Regions from separate parts of the Homo sapiens genome. Here region 1 is linked to region 2. The links are contacts of gene promoters, found by promoter capture Hi-C in human tissues and cell types (Jung and others, 2019). All regions are on one chromosome and are shown on one strand. The core of a region is centred on a gene start or on the middle of the fragment in contact, and the rest is flanking DNA. Distances in the headings are between cores, read along the strand shown.

Evidence for each region. Contacts are between HindIII fragments. The study calls those that stand out against the background at their distance.
Region 1: a fragment that was not itself captured here is called in contact with the fragment with the promoter of LRFN4 in region 2 in 1 of the 25 tissues and cell types used here (dorsolateral prefrontal cortex).

Annotation. Positions count from the first base shown.
Region 1 is chr11:66,601,685-66,607,098 of GRCh38, reverse strand. CCS (copper chaperone for superoxide dismutase) reads right to left here. Exons shown (of 8, transcript NM_005125.2): 6 at 1,683-1,760; 7 at 1,507-1,610; 8 at 1,080-1,397. The coding sequence ends at 1,244. Among named protein-coding and RNA genes, the nearest start is that of CCS, 11 kb to the right of the region's middle. The HindIII fragment of the contact is 5,698 bases long and covers 1-4,505 here.
Region 2 is chr11:66,855,814-66,860,640 of GRCh38, reverse strand. It overlaps LRFN4 (leucine rich repeat and fibronectin type III domain containing 4), which reads right to left and starts at 3,577. Exons shown (of 2, transcript NM_024036.5): 1 at 1,548-3,577; 2 at 166-1,004. The coding sequence starts at 2,896. The coding sequence ends at 446. The region is part of intron 12 of PC (pyruvate carboxylase); the gene reads left to right. RefSeq lists silencers at 3,692-3,801, 3,962-4,491. The HindIII fragment of the contact is 20,544 bases long and covers 1-4,827 here.

The DNA of each region.
Region 1 (5,414 bases), core at 407-2,906, 250 kb after region 2:
CAAACTGTACCCTGGTTAGCAGCTCATCCAACCATAGGAAAGGGGAGCTTGGCTAGGGCTGCCTCCGAGGGTCCCACGCAGCCTCAGAATCATAGCTGCTGCTCCCTTAACTTTATATGACAGGCTGTGTGCCAAGCACTTCACTTATGTTAATTGATAATTTTTACTTATGACTGAAAGGAATAAAGTCAGATTTTTGTTTGTTTGTTTTTGGTTTTGTTTTTTTTTTGAGATGGAGTCTTGCTCTGTTGCCCAGGCTGGAATGCAGTGGCGTGATCATGGTTCACTGCAGCCTCAACCTCCCAGGCTGAAGCAATCCTCCCACCTCAGCCTCCCAAATAGCTGGGACCACAAGCATGCACCATCACACCCAGCTAATTAAATTTTTTTTTTTTGTAGAGACAGGGTCTTACTCTGTTCCCCCAGCTGGTCTCAAACTCCTGGGCTCAAGAGATCCTCCCGCCTTGGCCTTCCGAAGTGCTGGGATTACAGGTGTGAGCTACCGTGCCCAGCCTCAAGCCAGATTATTTTAACAGGGGGATGCATTAGGAGGATTCGGGAGCATCTCTTCAATCCCAGGCAGGAGGCAGCTGGCCTCACGAAAGGCTCAGAGAGGGGACTCCAGAGTGACTGGGATTCTCCAGCAACTCTTAGATTCTCCCTGCCTCATTTTTCCTCCTTAGCCGACTGGCTTTTTCTGATGCTCAGTCAATAAGGCAGGGAGAAGAGGGCCACCAAAACTTCCCATATTCCCATGTTATGGGTCCAACCACAGGAAAAAACTAAAGCTGGATCTGCCCTGATTTCTCAGGGAAAGCATGGGCCACCATGGGTCAGGTGTCCATTTTGGTTCCAATCAGCCATAGTGAGGGGTTGGGGGAGGCCACAAACAGAAATTTGACTGTAGTGGCTCTTCATTATGGCTCCAAGGAGGAAGATGGGGACTTCAGTGTGTGTGTAGGTTTGAATTCAGGTTTGTTTGGCTCCAATGCTAAGGGGTGGCCCTGATACAAAGGAAAGAAGCAGAGCTATGTTCACCAAGCCCATAAGGGGCATGGAGACAAGCACAAAACACCAAGTCCCAAACGAAAATAAAACTTTCATTTGCCAAGGGAACACCACAGCAGCTCCTGCCCTGTACTGAGCTCTCCAAAGACTGGGCAGGCAAAGTCCCTCTGGCCCCCTCTGGAAGTGGAAAGTGCTCGCCCTGGAGGACAGCAACAGAGCCAAGGTGAGGTCCTGCTCAAAGGTGGGCAGGGGGCTGCGCTGACTCCTTTCGGCCCTTGCCAGCGATGGGCCGGCCTCGCTCCTCCCAGATGGTGAGGCCATCGCAAGAGCAGATCTGCTTGGGGTTCTGGAAAAGGCCAGCGGAGCGTGCAATGATGCCACAGGCCAACCTGCAGAAGAATGTGTGGTCAGGGGTGGGTACCTGTTTGGCCCCCACCCCTGGGTTCCTCATGCACCATCCGCAGAGCACAGCCTCCTACAGGGGCCGACACCACTCACCTCTCCCCGGAGTTCCCTGTGATCTTGGATAAGGGATGGCCTCCCCGGCCCAGGTCATCTTCTCCCTCATCAATAATCAGGCTGCGGCCAATCACATCCCACACCTTTGAGGGGAGACGACAGCTTCAGATGATGGACCCTGTTAGGAAGGGTGCCCACCTTCTTTTCCACCTTACCTTCAGCTGCTCATCCTCCATTCTGAAGATGGCGCGGCCGTCAGCATCAGCACGGACATTGCCCAGGTCTCCGCGGTGCTGGAATGAGATCCAGTGTGTGTATAGGGGATGTGTGCCACGTGGTGCCAAGCTGCTATCTTCTGATTTCCTGATTCCGACGCCTCTTCCTGCTTCCCTAAAGTACCCATTTCCTCCTGTGGGTACCAGTCTCGTAGGATCTGAGCTCCCCAAGGACTGGGCAGGCAAGGTCCTCTTGGCCCTGTCTGGAAGTGGAAAGTGGTCCAGGAAGTCCCGGACCATCTGAACACTCCCTCCCTGGAACTGAAATCCTGGGCAGGATGACAGTGGGCTGAAAAGAGCCAGTGGAAGTTTCCCCTGCCTGTGCAGTCATTCCCATTGGATCAGACTGTTTTTCCGGCGAGGCAATTGCCCAGCTCTGCTTCTCAGCCTCCAGTTAGCTCAGTTGTGCAGCCTCCTGATGGCTCTGTGAGCCCTTGGCTGTCTTCAATTCCTATAGGCTTAAGTTGGCCAAGCTTGGCTTCCCTGACCATCATAGGCAGCCAGTGTCATTTCCCTGACTCCCAGATTCCAGGAACAGAAGGAAATGCAAGGGGCAAAGGGCCTGTCCTAGCCCCTCGAAGCTGGCTCTGCCCTCCTTCTCCTTTGACGGTAATAAAAATTGTCATAACACACCTATGAGCACCTCCTAGGTCAGACACACTACCCAACATGGCAGGGAGTATGCAGGTCACCATCCTCAAGGGACTCAGAACATGGTGGGGGCCCAGATACAGAACAGACTAGGGGTGATGACACACAGGGTGAATACAACAGTTGGTGTGTTTTGGGGTGACAAGGCCTTACTAGTGAGCCACAGAAACCCACATCTGTGCAAATAAATTGTCCCCAACCTGACATTTTGGGCAGAAACAAGTGCCTGTGCCAGTACAGGTGGGCTCCCATGACCTTGCTGCTGAGTAACCAGGCATCTCACTGTGCCACCAACTGATGGGCAGGAAGAAGTGGCAGTTCTGCTTTATCTCGTTTTCCAGAGGGATATCTGCTGCCTGCACCTGGTACTTTTTTTTACGCCCTGCGTTGGAGATTTGAACAGTAGAAAGATCAAGAAGGGGGAGGGGATACAGAGCCCTGAAGAGCGGTTTTTTTTGCTTGTTTTGTTTTGTTTTGATACAAAGTCTCATTGCAATGCCCAGGCTGGAATGCAATGGTGTGATCTCGGCTCACTGCAGTCTCTGCTTCCCGGGTTCAAGCAATTCTCCTGCCTCAGCCTCCTAAGTAGCTGAGATTACAGGCACGCGCCACTACGCCTGGCTAGTTTTTGTATTTCTTTTAATTAATTAATTTATTTATTTATTTATTTATTTATTGAGACAGAGTCTCACTCTGTTGCCCAGGCTGGAGTGCAGTGGTGCGATCTGGGCTCACTGCAACCTCCCCACCCCCCAGGTTCAAGCAATTCTCCTGTCTCAGCTTCCCGAGTAGCTGTGACTACAGAGCACGCCACCATACCTGGCCAACTTTTGTTTTGTTTTGTTTTGTTTTGTTTTGTTGAGATGGAGTCTTGCTCTGTCGCCCAGGCTGGAGTGCAGTGGCGCGACCTCGGCTCACTGCAAGCTCCGCCTCCCAGGTTCACGCTATTCTCCTGCCTCAACCTCCCAAGTAGCTGGGACTACAGGCGCCCGCCACCACGCCTGGCTAATTTTTTGTATTTTTAGTAGAGACGGGGTTTCACAATGTTAACCAGGATGGTCTCGATCTCCTGACCTTGTGATCTGCCCGCCTCGGCCTCCCAAAGTGCTGGGATTACAGGCATGAGCCACTGTGCCCGGCCCAACTTTTGTATTTTTAATAGAGACAGGGTTTCACCATGTTGGTCAAGCTGATCTCAAACTCCTGACCTCAAGTGACCCATCCGCCTCAGCCTCCCAAAGTGCTGGGATTACAGGCATGAGCCATTGCACCTGGCCTAATTTTTGTATTTTTAGTAGAGACAGGGTTTCACCATATTGGCCAGCCTGGTCTCGAACTCCTGAACTCAAGTGATCCGTCTGCCTCGGCCTCCCAAAGTGCTAGGGTTGCAGGCGTGAGCCACTGTGCCCGGCTGGAGGAGCGGCCTCAAGGCAGGGGGCAGCCTGGACAGTGTGGCTGGAGGCATGACCCAGCAGGAGTTCAGGGAAAGGCAGCCTTTCCAGGCTGTTTCCTCAGCACACAGGCAGGGGCAATAGGCAGGGGGAGTGGGGTATTGAATGTCCACATCAAGAAGCTAGGCCCAGCTTGTACTCTCAGGCACTGGGAGCCAAGACAAGTTTCAGGCAGGGGCATGGCCTGGTTACTCCAGGCTTCAGAACAATCCTTCTAGTGCAGTCTATGAAAAGTAAAGACTGGAGCAGGGTGAGGAGAGAACAGAAGGGAGCTTAGAGATCAGTTAGGAGATGTGCAAGGGACAACCAGGCTTGAATGCAAATTCCCACATGGAATTCTTTTCCACCTGGGAAAAGCAGATGCTAAAACCCAACAGCAACTTGCCAGTCACCGTGGCCTTGGCTGGTCAGCTCCTGCTCAGTTCTTCCTTGTCTAAGTTAAGGGATTGGGTGAGGTACAGCTGCTGATGCCAGCCCCTTCTGATTCCCTGCCCCACCTGGGGCCCAGGAAGAAAACACAGGTCACAAGACAGGCTCCTGCCCTTCAGAAACACTCCCTGCCATTCCATGCCTTGAGGGCTTTGCCCGGGCAGTTTCTTTTGCTGGGCTTGCCAATCCCACTCTTACCCTCTTCAATGCCTACTTCCTGCCCATCATCTTTCAAGGCTGCATGAGGCGAATGGCCTCTATGATGTGCCTCCCTTGAGTGTGGGCTGGACCTAGTGTCACTTCTAAGATTAGGTTACAAAAAGAATGTGGCTTGAGTCTTGGACGCCCTCTCTCAATCTCAATCTCTCTCTCTCTCGCTCATTCACTCTGAGAGAAGCCAACTGCCGTGTTGTTAGCTGCCCTAGGGAGAGACCCATGTGGCAAAGAACTGATGTCTCTGGCCAACAGCCAAGGAGGACCTGGGGCCTGCCAACAGCAACATGAGCAAACCTGGAAGCAGATTCTCCCCACGTGGGGCCCTGAGATGACTGCAGCCCCGAGAGAGACCCTGAGCTGCAGGCACCCAGCTAAGTCACACACAAATTCCTGCCCCAGAGACAGTATATGTTTGTTGTTTTAAACTCCTAACTTTGGAGTCATTTGATTTGCAGCAGCAGATTACTAATCACTGAGCATAAGCATGGCACTGTGCAATGGACTCTATAAGAAATGCCTCTCCAATTTCCCAGAACAGGGAGTAAAAACTTTTGATCATTAGAAATGTGACAGGGTGGTTGGGCACAGTGGCTCATGCCTGTAATCCCAGCACTTTGGGAGGCCAAGGCAGGCGGATCACTTGAGGTTGGGACTTCAAGACCAGCCTGGCCAACATGGCAAAACCTCGTTTCTACTAAAAATAAAAAAAAGAAAAAGAAAAAAAAAAAATGTGGCAGAGGCCAGGCATGCTGGCTCATGCTCATAATCCTAACACTGGGAGGCCGAGGAGGGAGGTCTGCTCAAGCCCAGCAGTTTGAGACCAGCCTGAGGAACATAGTGACACCCTATTTCTACCACCAAAAAAACAAAAAAAAAAAATTAGCTGGGCATAATGGTACATGCTTGTGGTCCCAGCTATCAGGTG
Region 2 (4,827 bases), core at 2,328-4,827:
CGCAGCCCTGGGCCGCCCCTGTGGACAGGAAGCCAGGAGGCCCCAGGCTGCTGTGACTGCCCCCACCGGCCCTGGTAGCCCCACCCTTGTCCGTGTGCCACCAGCGGCCCGTGTCCTGTCCTCCCGTCTCGGGGGACCTAGCCAGACAACACCAGAGACTAGCACTGAGGTGTCCCCAACAATTTTATTATAAATAAAAACAAGACTCCCAGTGGGTGGCTGCAGCCCCTGCCTCGGTGGCTGTGAGCACCTGTTGGAGGGGCCTGCCCTTACCCTGGTCTGGAGGCCAGAACCGAGGAAAGGGCTCCCTGCCCCTCCAAGTACACAGGGGAGCCTGAGGTACTGAGAATAAAAACCAGGGAGGGACTCCCAGGCCAGGCGGCGGCCCCGGGCCCTCTGCCCCACGAGGCTCATCCCTTGGAGCACACAGGAAGCTGCCCGTCCATCACACCACACTCTCTTCCAGCCGCTCGGCGCTGCCTCCTACCCCCCGGCACCCTGCCCCGAGCAGCCCCCCATGCACAGAGTGGCTCCGTCGGGCCCAAGCTCCTCCCAGGCGCCTGGCATAACCGTAGCACCCGGCATCTCCCAGGTCCAGAGAGCAGCTGCGCTGCGGCCGGGGCGGGGGGCTCCGCGGCGGGTGGGCCTTGGGTGTGGGGCTGGGGCCTCCATTGGTCTGGGACTGGACGTGGCTGAGCTTGAGGGGGAGGCGGCCATTTCCGGCCCCCCGGCCCCGAACCAGCAAGGCCACAGTGAAGACCAGTAAGGCAGCCACCAGCACACCCCCCACGGCCACGGTCAGGGTCCCGCCCAGCACGTGGGCCTGCAGGGCGTGGCACAGGGGCGAGGCCGGCAGCGTGGAGAAATGGGCACAGCCCAGCAGCCTGGTGGCCGTGAGGTCAGAGGGCCCAGCGGCCGGTGACAAGGCCAGCAGGCAGAGGTCATAGTCAGCGCCGGGGACGAGGTGCTTCAGCAGGAAGTGGTGGCTGGAGGCTGGGACAATCCTGCAGGCAAGGGCAGGTGGTCAGAGCCCGGGGCTGGGGTCTAGCCCCATCCTCACCTCCCCACTCCCGTGCTCCCAGCTCCAAACACCCCTCCCCCTGGGGCCACTCGGGCTCTTGGGTTCACTCAGGAAGGTGAACAGGCTGGAGAGTGTGGCCAGGAGATGGGTGTGTGCACTGGCACAGGACGCAGGCAAGCGAGGGGAATGGGGTGGGGGGATGGCACCAGCAGAGGCAGAAATAACACGCGGGCGCGGGCCATGTGCTTCAGACAGACCCAACCGCCACCTGCTGCCGGGGAGGCCTGCACAGCTCAGTGACACCTGGGACATCTCGGGGTGGGGTCCTTCTGCCGCCCCTTGAGCTCCAGCCCCCTCAGGCAGCCAGGCCAGGCCAGGCCACTGCTCCTCCAAGAGTCCAGCAGCCATGGTCGGGGAGGGGGTGTCAGCCCCAGAGAGAGGAGGGGTGGAAGCAAAGCCTTGTGGGGAGCAGAGGGCGGAGGAAGGGCGCCGGGAGTGCAGCCGGGTGTGGGGCACGCATCCTCACCGGTAGATGAGGGTCTCATCTTCGCTGCTGTTGTACTGGATTTGGAACATCCACACTGGGTCGGCTGGCCGCCCGGGACCCCAGCTCACCAGCCCTGAGGTGGCGGTCACCTCCGTCACCTGCACGGCTGGCTCAGACTCCAGCGTCCCCTCACCCTCGGCAGCAGTGCGAGCGGAGGCGGCGATGTCCGAGGGCCCGGGGCGGCCCCCCTCGGCACTGCTGTTCCCACCATGGGGCAAGGCCAGCACCCGCAGTTCTACTCGGGCTGTGGCCTCACCAGCAGGGTTGGTGGCGATGCAGGTGTAGCCCCCAGCGTCCCCAGCGCCGGTCACCCCAATCTCTAAGGTCCCGTTGGGGAAAGCCCGGGCTCGGGAGGAGTTGCCAACCAACCGGTCGTCAGGACCGACCCAGTGCATGGTAGGCGCGGGGTCACCCAGGGCCCGGCACCGCAGCGTGGCCCGCTGGCCTTCCAGCACCCAGAGGCGCTGCGTGTGGCGGGCAATGAGGGGCGGCTCACAGGAGAACTCGCCCTCGGGCACTGCCCAGAAGTAGCGGCCGGCCAGGCCGGGCGGGGAGGCGCACGTTTCCAGGTCGTCCGGCCGCGCCAGCCGCCGCAGCCACAGCAGCTCACAGTTGCAGTGCAGGGGGTTCCCGCTAAAGCTCAGCACCAGGGGGGCGGGAGAGGCCTCTGCATCACGCCCACGAGAGAAAAGCGGGTCCGGAGCCAGCGTGGCCAGGCGGTTGGAGGTGAGGTCCAGGCGGGAGAGCTGACCGAGCTGGGCGAAGGCGCCTGGGGGCAGTGCGTCAATAAGGTTATGGTCCAGGTTGAGGGTGTGCAGGGCAGGCATGGCGCCGATGCCGGCCCAGGGCACCTGCCGGAGGTTGTTGTAGGACAGGTCCAGGTCCTCCAGGCTCTCTAGGAAGTCGTCGAAGGCTCCCGGCGCGATGCGGCCCAGCTGGTTGCCGCTGAGGATGAGGTGCTGCAGATTGACGGGGCCCCGGAGGCTCCCGGTGCCCAGCTCCACCAGCCTGTTGCCGTCAAGGTGGAGGGAACGCAGGCTCTCGAGGTCCCCAAAGGCGCGGGCCCCAATGCGGGTGATGGCATTGCGAGACAGTGTCAGGTCCACCAGTCCCGTCATGTTGCGGAAGTCAGGGGGCCCCAGGGCCTGGATGAAGTTGTCAGCCAGCCGCAGCTCCACTGTGCGCCGGTCCACGTTGGGCGGCACAAACAGCAGGCCTCGGTGGGCACAGAGGGTGCTGAGCGACTCGGACAGGTTCTGGCAGACGCAGGGCAGCGGGCAGGCGGCCGCTCCACTGGCCAGCAGCAGCAGCAGGAGCGGCGGGGCCATGGTGAGCGCCCTGTAGGAAGGGGCCACAGCCCAGGCACAGGTGGGGCTGGCGCAGGTGCCCACTTGGGCCCAGGACAGTCCCAGAAGCCAGCTTCTGTGAGCCTGGCCCGGGGAGGGGCTGGGTCAGAGGCCCAAGAGGGCCGCCAGAGATGAGGGAAGGTTGGGGCCTGCAGGGCCAGGCCCCCCAGAGCAAAGGTCACATTTCCCAAGCAGTTAAGGGGGAGTCCAGGCGCTGGGGACAAGGTGAGGCATGAGGCAGGAAGCGGAGGAGGACCGAGAGCAGGGAGGGTCCCGGAACTTCCTTTCCCAGGCGTCCCCAGGAATCGCCAGCCGCCTCCCCACTCCCCGCCATACCCTCCCCCGCCAGAGAAGGCGCCCCCCGAACCTCCCGTGGAGTCCGTGGCCCCTCCCTGGCCGGCCCCCGCGCTGCGCCCGGCGGCCCCCTCACCTGGTGTCCGTCGCTCAGGGGGCGCGGGCCGGCCTCCCTGCGAGCCCGGCCGGCCCCCGCCGACTCCTGGCCGCTCTCCCGCGGGGACGAGGCCCGGGGATGACCGGCCGCCCGCCGCCCACCCTCGGGCCCATGGCGCTCGGGCCCGCGGCCCCGGCTCGCTCGGTTCCCGGCACCTTTTCCCGGCGCGGTTAGCGGTGGCGGCGGCGACAGGCGAGCGGGTGCGCGCCGGCGGGCGCGCGCGCCGCGGACACGCACGTGGAGGGCGGACGGGGAGGGGCGCGCGGGGATCCACCCGGGCCCGGGCCGGCTCCTGAGGTCACGGGGACACGCGGCCGCTGCAGCGCCCACGGGTGGCGCCCAGTCACGCCCGAGGCCCGGGCCGGCGCGGGCCCTCCGCGCTGTCCCCCGGCGCTGCCGCAGCGCACTCACCCTGGCACAGGCGCGCGCGCCCCCGGCCATCCTGGCGCCCCGGCATCCTGCACCGCACGGGCGCCCGCCGCCGCGGCGCGAACCTCACTCTGCAGACAGCCAGACAAAGCGCCTGCTCGCGGGCCCCTTCACCATCTCCCGGAGACGGGCGTCTTTGTCACATGTCGCTGGGCACCCTCCCCAACACACCCACACATGCCCACACACCCACACGTCCCTGCACCCACGGGCAGGGCCGAGCGCAAACCCGCACTGTTGCTGGGACCCTTGCGTTCACAGACACACGCTGAAGGTCATAACCGTTCTGCATCACCGAGTCACGTGGAGGGTCCCCAACCGGCACGGGGTTCGGCCGTGGGGGGGGCTGGGGCGGCGCCCCTGGCAGGGCTGCTGCGGGGTGGGGCCGAGAGGGCTTGGCCTCCGGGCAGGCGCCCCGCCCCCGCCGCCCCGCCCTGTCCCCAGCTGCCTCTCGCCTCTCCCTCCCTCCCCAGCTGCCCCGCCCGCCCCGCGGGCCAGGCGTTCCGGAGCCAACCGGCCTCCGCCTCGGGCCGGATTGGTCTGCGCGGCGCGGCTTCCCAACCGCCGGGGGCACGCATTGGGAAGCTGTGCGTCCTCGCAGCGCCTGCGGCCCCTCCCTCCCGCTCTGTCGCCGCCGGGCCATTTCCCTGGAAGAGCGGCTCGGAACCAGCTCCTCTCAGAGAAAGGGCTCCCGGCGTGAGGTGGGGGAGGTTCTTTGCTTCCTGGTTGAGAAAGCTGGGGCTTCGGTGGCTCGGCGAGCCTGGTTTCCTTCCAGCTGTGCCCGCCACCACCAGTGGTCTGCCCAGTTGGGAAACAGGAAGTCACCACCTCCCCGTGTCTCCTGGTCCTTAAGCCACCTAAACCTCAGCCATCCTCGTTCTCCCTCCAGCCCTGATCCCCATGGGCCAGGTGGCAGGAAACTCGGGGAAACCCAAGATTGGAATTCTGATCCTGTCAGCACAGCAGTGTAGTCCTGGGCACGTTACCTGACCACTGAAAACAAGTTCCTCCTGTAGGCCAGGAGAGTTGGATG